Regions from separate parts of the Homo sapiens genome. Here all the other regions are linked to region 3. Evidence: promoter capture Hi-C in 16 types of primary human blood cells and fetal thymus (Javierre and others, 2016). All regions are on one chromosome and are shown on one strand. Each heading gives the region's core, a stretch centred on a gene start or on the middle of the fragment in contact. The rest is flanking DNA. Distances are from core to core; before and after follow the strand shown. Region 1 has its middle 26 kb from the start of EXO1. Region 2 overlaps WDR64 (WD repeat domain 64). Region 3 holds the start of KMO (kynurenine 3-monooxygenase).

Region 1 (4,298 bases), core at 897-3,396, 290 kb after region 3:
AAATATTTATTATATTTTATAGTGGATACACCTTCTGAATTATGTTATAGGTTAACACTGAAGATATGTTTCATCTACTAAACATATAACTGCTGGATAGTTGGGGGAAAATGGCTAGAAGTTTGCTAGGTAGCAGTAGAAAATCTAGCTGGGATTCAAAATATCTCAGGAATAACACATGATACAAATATTGCCTACTTAATCGTGAAATAGACTGCATTTGTATGGCTTGTATTTGTGTACAGGATGACTGTACTTATTTTGGTAAATAGATACTCGTACATTGTGTACACATGTGCTTTTGAGCCCTCTCTTTTCATAGTCTAGAAGTACCATAAAGAAAGGGACCATGTCTAGTGTTTTCTTTATACCTCCTTTAACTATCAGTAGTAATATACTGTGGATGCCCCAAAATGTTAACTTACCTATTTATGAGTTGCTTACATTTATATTTTTCTTAGAGACATCAGTTTTTTTCTCAATGTATAAATAACTAGGTAAGGAATGGGATGGGACATTAATTTTCTCGAGAAATATTGCATGAAAAACTAGAAATACACAGGAAAAAACAAAAAAGATGGTCTCTGCCCTTCAGGTACTTATTGCCTGAGAAAGGAAACAAAGATAGAATCAGATATGGGCAACAACATGTTAGAGGTGCGATGATGGAAGTCAGTACAAGTACCACATGGGCATGGGAAACGTTCCACCTGTAACAAATATATGCCTCTTCTTGCCAGTTACAGGCATCATCTGTATAGGATTCAGAAAGAAAAAAATATTTGTCTTAAGCTGAATGAAAACAATTCTGCAATTTTTATAGGAAATTCACATGACATTAAAAACAGGAAGACAAAAACAACGCATACAGGGTCTGCAAGATTTAGAAATACAGATAGGTAGAGATGAAAGGGATCAACTAAAAGGATTCATGTTTATATAACCAGTCCCAGTCCCCATTTTTCTATTATTAAATAATAGATGATTGCATGTGGTATCTAAGTCAGAATAAACTTTAATTTACAGCTATACCATCTGTACTACTTACTATTTCTATTACGGCAACTTCTTTGAAGAAGGCATTTGATTTTAAAAGGAATGCCATATCTATTTTTAGAATTTTTTTTTTCTACAAAAAAAGGCCATAGACTGGAAGAAAGCACAGAGGCACAGGTGGCTAAATACAATTTTTCAATGAATAGAAATGAGCTAAAAGTCTCTAACATTTCCTTAAAATGTCTTATGATGTCAGAACAAATTGAACGAATAAGTTTATGTATTGCTCATGCATGCACATAATTTATTTGTGGCATAATGACTCAGATGCAGTGTTTGGCTAGTAAATTCCACTTCTGCATTTCTGTTCACTGCCTGTAAATATTATTGTTCTGCCATCCTGACTTAATTATTCCTAGATAAAAAGAGATACACATTTGGAAGAAGGCAAAAACGAAAGATTTTTACAATGTGAAATAAAGGATCTTGATATTAGGCGCATCTTATAGATAGCTGGCCGCATATGGGGAAAATTATATGCTGAAGCAAGAGTTAAAATAAAGGGGTTTATTAATTTTACTACTTTATGTTCTTGTGAAGAGCAGAATGGTAAGGAATACTGCCAGTGGTTATTTGTAAAACTGGATCAGAAATCAGACCAATAGAAAAAATACATGCTTCATACTTACCAGTGCCATGTGACGATTTTATGGTGTCCACAAAACAGTCCAATTGATAGACTCTCTCTTCTGTTCAAATGGCCAGGCCAATTCAAGTGAGAACCAGAATTTGTTTTAGATCTGAGTTTCCAGGACTGTCTCTGGTTCTTCCATAGGTTTTTCTAGAGGGGACTGACCAAGTGGATCTACTCTCATCTGAAGACCATACTAGCCACCCACACTTACTTCAAGTGGTGCTGAATCCTCAAGGAAATTCCCTGACCTCTCAATCCTCACCATCCACAGAGCTAAATCAGACTTTCTTTGTGGTAAAGAACACAAGGTCTAGAATTAGCCTCTCCAGATTACAATTCTGGCTCCGGGCCGGGTGCAGTGGGTCATGCCTGTAATCCCAGCACTTTGGGAGGCTGAGGCAGGCGGGTCACATGGTCAGGAGTTTGAGACCAGCCCAGCCAATATGGTGAAACCCCGTCTCTACTAAAAGATACAAAAATTAGACAGGTATGGTGGCGCACACCTGTAGTCCCAACTATTCAGGAGGCTGAGGCAGGAGAATTGCTTGAACCCGGGAGGCAGAGGTTGCAGTGAGCCAAGATCATGCCACTGCACTCCAGCCTTTTCGAGACTCTGTCTCAAAAAAAAAAAAATAAATAAATTCTGGCTCTGACCATACCTGGTTTTTGGAAAGTTATTTAAGTTCTCTGTGCACAAGTTGACTCACCTACAATATGAAAATTATACTAATACCTGCATCTTAGGGTTTTCAATGAAGATCAGATTAAATAGTGCATGTAGAAATGCTTAGCAATATATGTATAAATATTTGTTTAATGTATATTTATGTGTCTAAATAAATATAAATATATACATACATATCTGCATTTGTATCTTTCACCTTCTTTGCACATAGGCATTCACACGACTTTGTTCTTACCTTGCAAATGTTATATACAAAATATATTCTAACATTTTCCCCATCCTTCTTCTCCATTCTATGCTGCCCTTTGCCAAGTGAACACAACTAGCCTAACCAGAAAGAGAGAAAAAAACAAACCTCACATCCCAGCAACTGTCAATTTTTTGCCCATATTCATTCTTCTCACATTTCTTCCACTCTTGCAATAGCAAAGAGAAAATTAAAAACAGGTTGGGCAACTGATAATATTCTTTTTGCATCACCAATTAGAATTCTGAGACTCTAAGTCATAAGGTAGGAACAGCTTCAGATGTGTTTTGAAAAACAGAAACAAACCCACATAGCACTCTGCCTGGGGAGAAAATCATTTCTCCCATGAATACTGATTCAGTTCAAAGGCACACCTAACTGTAATCCATAATAGAATAAGATGAAAAGTTTATTCGAAGAGAATCTAAACACAGAATTGAGAGGGGGAAGGAAAATAGTCACACATAGAAAATTTATTCTGGGCCAGGTGTGGTAGCTCATGCCTGTAATCCCAGAACTTTGGGAGGCCAAGGCAAGAGGATCGCTTGAGCTGAGGAGTTCGAGAGCAGTCTGGGCAACAAAGTGAGAATCTATCTCTACAAAAAATAAAAGTAAATCAATTAGGCAGGCGTGGTGGTGTGCCTATAGTGTCAGCTACTTGGGAGGCTGAGATGAGAGGATCACTTGAGCCTGGGAGATGGAGGCTGCAGTGAGCCATGATCATGCCACTACATTCCAACCTGAGTAACAGAGACTTTGTCTCAAAATAAATAATAAATAAAAATAAAAATAAAAATAAAATTTACTCTTATGTGTATGCTGATACCTTCCTAGGAAAGAATCACTACCTCTCTATCAGAGTTTAAATGAAAAGAACCATTACTAGCTGAATGGGAAAGGCAAAAATGGAGCTACATCTTAGGCCTCCTAAATTTGCATTCAGTTCACTCAATCTTCACTGTAGCCACTTCTGGATCATCAAAGTCCACAGTACGGCTGAAGACCCTTAGCAAGGCAGGGCCTGTAATGTGATGCGGTAAGTGGGGATAGGCCTGGTGGCCCTTTTGTTTGCTTATTGGCCTAGCCTCAAAAATAAGACAAGGATTGGATGTCTTGGGGCTAATGGCTGGTTCTAAAGGCAAAACAGCCCTTCCAGGACAGTTGGGAAATAACAGTCCTTCCTCCCCTTAACACTGTATAGTGTATCAGGAAGCCACTCACCCAGGTGAAAGAGGGTCTAGGGCATTCCAGGAATGGAGAGGCCAGCGGATCTGTGAGAGACATTTTTTAATGCTACACACCCAGTGTCACTCAAATTGTCTCCCACCCTAGCCCCAGGGAGTCATGCTCCCTCAGTTCCTCCTTACAGTTGCTGGGTAAAGGAGGCTGCATGGATTCTGAAAAGCAAGTCAAGAGGAAGAGCTGCTGACCTAAAAGTACTGTAGAAAACTGAGAGCAAAGGCTAAATGAAAGGATGGCAGCATTTAACACAGATAGAAAAGGATACTTCCTGCCTTTTTCCTGGCTCAAACTATGACTTCGACATGAAGTTTTGGACTGAGTGAGTCTGCCCGGAAGCACGCCATCAGAGGACACGTCAAGAAGCCAGTGAAAGAGAAGTGATGGCCCAGCGCGGGAGAAAGCAGTCACATATTCACATGTACTTTTCTCCTCTT
Region 2 (4,421 bases), core at 441-2,940, 270 kb after region 3:
AAGATCAATAAGCCTGAGCTAATGAAGCTTATCTAGACCTTTATGACTGAAATTCACTGAGCTGTTTTAGAAACTAGGAGATTTGACACGACATAGAGGAGGGCTGTATAACCATCCTTGTGTCTTAATTTGGTTGTACCTACAGAGTAAAGCCATGAGGTCAGTTTCTGTCTTAGCTGCAAGAATTTTTCTACAGTATTAATAAAAATAACTAACATGCAATGCTTTAGAGTTTGCAGTGATTTTATAAATGATTCATTTGATTTTCACAATAAGAACAAAGAAAATATTAGACTCTCTTAGAGCTGGGGAAAAAATGGAGTCTAAAGTAAGGTCAAGTGGCTTACCAAAGATCACATACAAATGAAGTGATAAGCTGATACCTACTCTGACTCCAAGCTCATTCAATGAAACCATGATAGCCTACACAGCTATCACTATATAACCTATCACTCTCCTACTAGTTCTAGAAGCTCTCAGGGGCCTAACTTAACCTGTGGCCATTTATCCAGTCATTAAAATAGATCAAACATTTAGGAGGAAGATATAGCACATGGTAATTTTTTATAAGTCTCCTTTCCATGAAGTCAGATTAAAATTAAAAAGGAGTTGGCGTTTATTGATTGTGCCTAACTCAGTAATACATAACAAATACTGACAACAACAACAATATTCAAAGCTGCTTTAATTAATATTGAAAACTTTGCCATAATAATGTTAGCTTGTGCACTTAATGAGAATATGAATAATTTCTGTTCATCATCAACTCTGACAATTATTTAAGAATTTTTGGCATTAGAAGAGTTTTCTGTTAAAAAATATCATTTACTTTTAATTGTTTTATGTAACTGATGAAACACAGTTGTATAAATAATCCAAAACCTTGTCTAGAGACCTGGAAATGAAAAAAAAAATCCAAAACTAAAGGTAATAAAGTATTTGTATTTTTTTCTGCACGACTCTGTGCATTAGGTTTTATAATTCATGCATTTTATGTCTATTTGCACTCTTATTTAAATTTTATCTCATCTGATGTTAAATATACTTTGCATTCTTTAAGTAAATACTAAGTGACAGAAAGAAGATGGCCAAATATGTCTTAGGTACCAGGGGGAAGACAATATGGAATGAAAAATTATTCACAGTTAATCTACATAAAGACTAATCTACACTCCAATAACCAGAATTTGACTCTACTATAATTAATTTTATTAGAGATCATAAAGAATGATAAATTATTTATCCAAACACAAAGACATTTTTAAGATGTCTAAATAACCTGATGTTCTGACAAATCCTTTATTTTCTCTTAATCACTCTGATAGATCGTCGATCACACCAGAAAGACAAAAAGAATAGATGTCTTCATTTGTTTATAGAAAATAGGTGCCTTAATTTGCTTAAATTGAAAAATCCTCACATAAAACTCTCTTCTGGTTTACTAAAAGAAATAGTTAAGTGTGGCCAGGAGGTCAAAATTGGTTTCCAATATACAATTAAGACCAATTGTGCACTTAGTAAGATGACAAAATCTGGAAACTGGGATAGATTAAAGCACCACTATGTTAACTGTCTACAATTTTAGAACTCCAAAGAGCCTAAATGGAAAAACAGTGGATCACATAAAATCAGTAGTTAGACACCAAATGCCTCGTTTCATAAAAATACTTCCAAAATGGTGGGCATAAAACGACCTCAGAAATTCAGGGGGAGAAATTTCACTTTTATGAAACAAATATTTATGGAATACCTTAAAATATTCATCATGTCCCCTGCACTGTTCTGGGCACCAGGAATCCATTTATAGATTAAGGAACTTACAGTACAGTTGGAAGAAAGTCCTTTGAGTAAAAGGTTCAATAACAGATATCTTAGTCTATTTTGACTTACTATTTTTAAATATAGAAATGCTAATTCTGAATATGAACTTCTTTAAATCATTTATACGTCTCTTTAGAATTAAACAACACATTATAAAATATTAACCATGGTACAACAAAAGATAAATCAGAACATGAGTTTGTATTTCCTTTTCAGTTTAAATGTAGGAAGAGAAGGGAAGAAAGTGAACTTTGGAAAGTGTAACCCATTTTCAAAATTGTGGAAACATGTCCAATCATGCAAAAATGTCTAAGTGAAAGATGGTATATGTGAAAACATACTCCATAGTTTTTCCAAAGTATTTAATGACAGGCCAGGCTCAGTGGCTCATGCCTGTAATCCCAGCACTTTGGGAGGCTGAGGCAGTTGAACTGATTGAACCCAGGAGTTTGAGACCAGTCTGGGAAACACAGTGAGACTTTGTCTCTCCAAAAAAAAAAAAAAAAAAAAATACAAAAATTAGCCGGGTGTGGTGGTGCACACCTGTAGTCCCAGCTGCTTGGGAGAGGTGGGAGGATCGCTTGAGCCTGGAAAGTGGACGTTGCAGTGAGCCAAGATCGTGCCAAAGCATCTCAGCCTGGATGACAGAATGAAACTCTGTCTCAAAAAAAAAAAAAAGTATTTAATGACAGAAAAATTATCACAATTTTATTTTAGGTGAAAAGAATATATAAACTGTAACTCAGTAATATTTCTAATGACAACAGCAAATCTTTATTTTCAAATCAATGTTGCCCAGTATGATATTGTGCATTTGCTATGTACTCTTTCATTTCATCTTTGCAACAACACTTTGAGATATGTTGCAATGATCATCCTCCTGTTACAGTTAAGAAAACTGAAACACAGAGGATAAGTAATTCCTCTGAGATTCCAAAAAAGCAAGTCATAGAGCTGGGATAAATCCAGTCACTTAACTTCAAAGCCTGGACACTTAAATGCAATGCGGTATAATTCAGTGATGGGTGAGCTGCTAGGTCTCTCCTGGTCAGAATAACCTTATGAGAATTAACAATTAATGAACACTAGAGAGCCCCACCCTTCCCATCTTTTTCAGTCTCCTCACTGATGTAATTTTTTTCATAGCTCTGATCACTACATGACATTGTATCATATAAAAATCCATTTTTTCCAAAATTATTTTTCATATAGCTTAATTTTTCCCCTAAAAAGTCATTTTTATTGCCTTTATCCCACTAGAATGTAAGATCCATGAAGGCAGAAACTTTGCCTAACTTACTCTCTGCTGCAGTGCCAATGTCTGGAACATAAGAGACACTGCAGAAACATTTGCTGAATGAAATAGTGAATTAGCCTTTAAAACAAGTGGAAAAAGAAAAAGAGAAAATAAAAGAAAGATCTGTGCAGCTTGGAAAGTTCCCTCTGCTGGGGTTTAGCAGGTTGATCCAGGGAGCTAAGCCTCCTACCTTGTCTGTGGGAGAAAGAGGAGTACTCATGTGACCTCTTAATGTCCAAGCTTAAAGGATCCGTAAGTGGTTGAATCTTGACCTTAGGAGCTCACTCTTCTCCCTTTCCTTATAACTCTCTACATCTCCTCTTCCCTTTTTCTTCTTTCTTTCTTTATCCCCATAATAGACCATAAAATCAAATTGACATGTATTGTGAATATTGGTTGAACATAACTGATATGAATTTTTAAACCAAATTAGTTTAAATTTTTATACCTATTTCTTCCAAAAATAATCAATGCAAAACAAACTTTTATTAGCTGGACGTGGTGACACATGCCTGTGGTCCCAGTTACTCGGGAGGCTAAGATGGGAGGATTGCTTGAGCCCAGGAGGTTGAGGCTGCAGTGGGCTGTGATGGTGCCACTGCACTCCAGCCTGGGTGACAGAGCAAGACCCTGTCTCAAAACAAAGCAGAACACAACAAAAACCAAACTTTTATTCCTCATTTGTGTGACTGATAATCACTTGATTTTATTTTCCTGTGAGCCAACCGACTCTGATGTTATTAATCTGCAATATTAATTAATTATTAATTGTGCTCGCTTCAGCAGCACATATACAATATTAATTATTAATTAACCAAGTCTTGTTTTGTTTTGTTTTGACCCAACCCTTTCCACACTGTGCAGCTGAGTCCTAGAATGGATAACTGCCCAGTTAAGTAGCTCTTCAGCTTCTGCTTGTCCACCGCATCCTTCAGGAGCCCCACCTCCTAATTTAACATACTTTTATCCTGAAGTCACATAGGATTGTTAAGTAAATAACTATTCATTTTTTTTCTAGGAGGATTAAAATCTCTATGTAAATTAGCAATACACCTTGACTCTGGAAAATTGTGTTTGTCAGTAGAATGCCAGTTACTAACTGACATGCTCTTTATTTCACAGGCACCACGAAGAAGAAGTTTGAAAAAAAATTTAGTCCCACAAATAAATCTGGCTTCTTCCTTCTTCCCAGCTATACCCAAGTAAGGAGAAAAAATCAGAAATGGCTGCTGCACATAAAATGGCAACGTTTGGATGATACCTGCTCTTTATTTCAGGATGAGAGGGAGAAACCACCAGACAC
Region 3 (4,218 bases), core at 660-3,159:
GATTGCACCATTGCACTCCAGCCTGGGTGACAGAGTGAGACTCCATCTCAAAAAAACCCAAAAAACAAAAAACAAACAAAAAAGCATAAACAGCATATGAAACCTAGAGATACTCATACATATGTACATGACATTGTATACACAAGAGTGTTTATGGCAACACCATTATTCATGATATTAAAAATTTGGAAACACCCCAAATGTCCATCAACAGCACAATGGACAAATAATAAATGACGATAAAAATGAATGAACTGGAAAAACATGCAACAACACAAATGGATCTTAAGAGATATAATATTGAGAAAAAGAAGCAAGTTGTAAAAAAATAAACAGTATAAGTTCATTTATAGGAAAGTTCAAAAAAGTCAACACTAAACTATTTTAGGGATGCATCTATCATGGTACAATTATACATAAAAGCAAAGAAAGTTGGTATGGCAGTTACCTCTACGAAGGAGGGGTGATTAACAGGGGGCACGTTAGACTTCTGGGATTCTGGCAATATTCTCTCTCTGCACCTAAATGGTAGTTACATGGATACTTGCTTTACAGTAACTTATTATACTGTTCATTTGTGTTATAGTTCATAATTTTTAAAAGATTTTTTAACAATGATACATATTGATACTGAGGAATTGATACATATTCTCTACATATTGATATTGAAGAATTCTCAAGCTATATGTTGTAAAGTGAGAAATATGATGTGGAAAAAGTTTTTAAATGTATGTTTAAAAAGAAAGGAAGGAAGGGAATGAGAGAGTGAGAGAAAGAGAGAGAGAAAAGGAGAGAGAGGAAGAACAAGAAAGACATAATCAACGTGTAGAAGAATACGGTAACCCACACACCAAAACAGTTGTTGTCTTTGGGCAGGAGGAATAGGTGGCCAAGGGTCAAGGTTAGCAGGATTACTATTCACCGTGTACTCTTTTGTGTCTTTAATTTCATGCCATGTTAATGTATTACCTATTCAAAATAAATAAAATACCTAATCATGCTTATCCACAAGGGGTCACTATTGAATGCCATTTAACTCTAGTTCCTAACCAGGGAAAAAAACGTTCTGAATTCTTTATGTGCTTAACAGGAAGTGAAGAAACAACTTCATTTATGTTCTTATTTTACATTACACCACATCATGTTCCAGAAAACAATTGCCATTCGCAAATCATGCACAAAAGTATAACATTTAAAACGGAGTGAAAAAGACAAAAAAGTGAATAGATAATATGAAGTCGGGAATGAGTTTACAGAAGCGTTGTGTCAGTCATCTCCCCTAGTGGTAATTAGACTCTAAATTTTCGATTCTAAAATTAGATTCTAAATTTTCTAGCATCTGGGCTGAAAAAAAAAAGGGGAAGTATGGTCAGTTACACAATTCAAAATGTTGATCGGGAGAATATTAAGACCTTGCAGAGAATTTTCCCTGGTAGAGCCTGTTAAAAACAATCCATGAGGACCCTTTAGATGAAATTTTTGATTGGTCTTAACCACAAAAATGATCCACAGATGAATTATGAAACCATGTCATCTTACTCTCTAAGGGAGGTATAAGATGTTTTTGGACTTCAGATGAGAAGGGCTCCATTCATGGTTAATCATGAATGAAAACGAAACTAAGAATATATGCTGTAGAAAAAGAAGAAGAAAAGCCACAAGACTGCTTAAAAATTTCTGTGTCTTACACAGAAGATAGAAAAAATAGAGTGTCTCCAATTGGATGGATTTTTTAAAAAATTTGGTTATTGTAATGGATTTATTTTTTCTTAGAGCTGAGCTGATTGTACTTTGGCCAACTAATGGGTTAATACTGTCAAGGGAAATTAGCCCTGACTAAACATTGCCGCTGGCTCATGAATGCACTAGGCTTGGGGCAGTATAAAAACTCAGAGAAATCAGTGTGTAGGAGACACAGAAATCAGTGTCACTCAGTGACAGAAGCAACAATAATTGTGAAAAATACTTCAGCAGTTATGGACTCATCTGTCATTCAAAGGAAAAAAGTAGCTGTCATTGGTGGTGGCTTGGTAAGAATTTTCAGATGGATTACTATTGTTGGTGGTATTATATTAACTATTATTACTCGTAATGATTATTATTCGTCACTTCTGCAAATTGTTAATTTTCTTGTGAAAACTCTGATATTTAAATACAGCTATTTTGTTTATTTTTTTAATATTTTTATTTTCATAGATTTAATATAGTATGAGTTTTAATCTGTTCTTTTTCAGGAAAGGTATTTTATAGCCATTAAATACAAAGGTTTCTGTTTTCCCTCATCATTTTGGTTTAGGATTTGTTAAAAAGCAAAAATAATGCAAATTGAATTTGATTTTATCCCCAAATTGGCTATGTTTTTAGGAACAGGAATTAGTCTCAATATTCATTTTAATAAAAACATTTGTTCCGCTTTGTTTAATAACTCAGTTAATGCTGTCTAATGAGAATAAAAGGGTCAAGAAACATGAAGCTAACGTCAAAGTATCATGTTGAATGTTCACTAGTTATATGAGTAATTGGGAATAAGATTTATGTGGTCGCCTGACTTACTTGACTCTTCCAGTGGAGCACCTAAGACAGTGGAGTGAGGTGTTCACCTCTCACTGAGCACGTGACGTAAAGGTGCTGGGGCTTCCCCCATACCTAACAAGACGGAAGGAGAGGTCACTCTCTGCTTTCATAGTTATGGTGCCAAAGGTAGTTCTGTTTAACATGGGTCTGCTCCGATTCAACTTTGCTTTTTCCCATCTCAGCAGAATTTCTGTTTCAGAATACAAACATCCCAGTTAGTCAAGGTTAAATCATTTCCCTATCACCTTTGGTCAAATCATTTGGAGACTTTTCATTAATTATTCATATATCCACTCAACAAAAAATTTATTGAGGGCGTAACACTGTTCTAGGCTGAATATAGATGGTATATTTTATGCCACACATGTATTTATACAGTATATGCTGTCTTTTGTTCTGCCTTCCTTAGTGTCTTTTCCCCAAAGTGCTAGAACAGTTCTTTTAATATTTCTGATTCTAAATTTTCATTTAGAAATGCTATCACATGATGTGTTGGTCACTGGTTGGGACATGTGTCGTCACTGCTTCATACTAGGCTTGTGTCCAATCTGTCCTATCAAAATGTTGCACAAAATGAGAATTCATGTGTTCAACAAAATCTGATTACTATGTACCAATATTGTTTTAGGTAGTAGGGATGCGAGGGTGAGAATTCCAGAGAAGAAAAAGACAAGGAAGAAGAAAACAAATAAGACAATTTCAGTTAAAGAGAAGCACTATGAAAGAAACGAAAACAGGGTAGTGCTGTAGAGAGTATCTTTGGGAGTACCTGTTTAGAATGTGGTCAGGGACAGCTGCTCTGCTGAAGGGACATGTGACCAGAGACCTGAATGATCAGATAGAACTAACTACGTGAAGATCTTGAGAAAGAGCATTTCAGGCAGAGGGAACAGCAGGAAGAGAAACCCTCAGGCAATAATGAGCTGCCCAAGTTCAAGGAGCAGAAAGAAAGGCAGGAACTGCCTGAGGCCAGAGAAGAGTAGCTGATGAGGCCAGAAAAGCTGACAGACCAGATCTTGTAGGATCTTAGAGGTCCAGGCAAGAAGATCAGATTTTGTTCAAATTACAATGGGAAACTATTGGAGGATTTTAGGCAGGAAATTAAGTTGTGATTTTAAAAGGTCCCTTGGACCATTATGTGGAGAATGACTAGGAACATTTTAAGATGACAAGATAGACCAGTTAGGAGGCTGTTACGTTAGCTCAAGACTTGGACTAAGGTGGCAGCAGTGATGTCTCATTTTAAAAATTGTCTCTTAGAAATCCAAGGGAGAGATAACAAATATGTGATTGTATATATGGTTTTGGGGGGCATAAAAATGTGGGTGTCATCCATGGATTTCTCCCTGAATAACATGAGATTGTCATCATGTAACCACGTCATACATATGCTGGAAAATAGGAGACAAAAATTACTACTTGCGTATTAGGGAGCAACTAAAATTCCTCTGCAAAAGAATTCTATCCATCCTATTGTTCAAGTCCATGCTTACGCATCATGTTTGATTCCTATTGTCATTTTGTGCAAACGCTTATTCTTCTTTCACTCCATCAGTAAGCCTTGAGGCTCTATATCCAAAATACATTTAAATTCTAGCCATTACAACCATCCTGGCCCAAGCCATTATCATCCGCCATCCTTAT

Evidence for each region. The method cuts DNA at HindIII sites, captures the fragments that hold promoters and counts their contacts. A CHiCAGO score of 5 or more calls a contact.
Region 1: a fragment that was not itself captured here is called in contact with the fragment with the promoter of KMO in region 3 in 4 of 17 cell types (M2 macrophages, monocytes, M1 macrophages and 1 more); the score reaches 9.0 in M2 macrophages.
Region 2: a contact is called between a fragment that was not itself captured here and the fragment with the promoter of KMO in region 3, in 1 of 17 cell types (M0 macrophages). The highest score is 6.5, in M0 macrophages.

What each region holds. Positions count from the first base shown.
Region 1 is chr1:241,820,234-241,824,531 of GRCh38, forward strand. No RefSeq gene overlaps it. Among named protein-coding and RNA genes, the nearest start is that of EXO1, 26 kb to the right of the region's middle. The HindIII fragment of the contact is 4,489 bases long and covers 1-4,298 here.
Region 2 is chr1:241,796,892-241,801,312 of GRCh38, forward strand. WDR64 (WD repeat domain 64) reads left to right here. Exons shown (of 28, transcript NM_001367482.1): 28 at 4,241-4,421. The coding sequence ends at 4,324. Among named protein-coding and RNA genes, the nearest start is that of EXO1, 49 kb to the right of the region's middle. The HindIII fragment of the contact is 3,331 bases long and covers 26-3,356 here.
Region 3 is chr1:241,530,469-241,534,686 of GRCh38, forward strand. KMO (kynurenine 3-monooxygenase) reads left to right here and starts at 1,910. Exons shown (of 15, transcript NM_003679.5): 1 at 1,910-2,030. The coding sequence starts at 1,977. RefSeq lists an enhancer at 1,493-1,642. The HindIII fragment of the contact is 7,761 bases long and covers 1-4,218 here.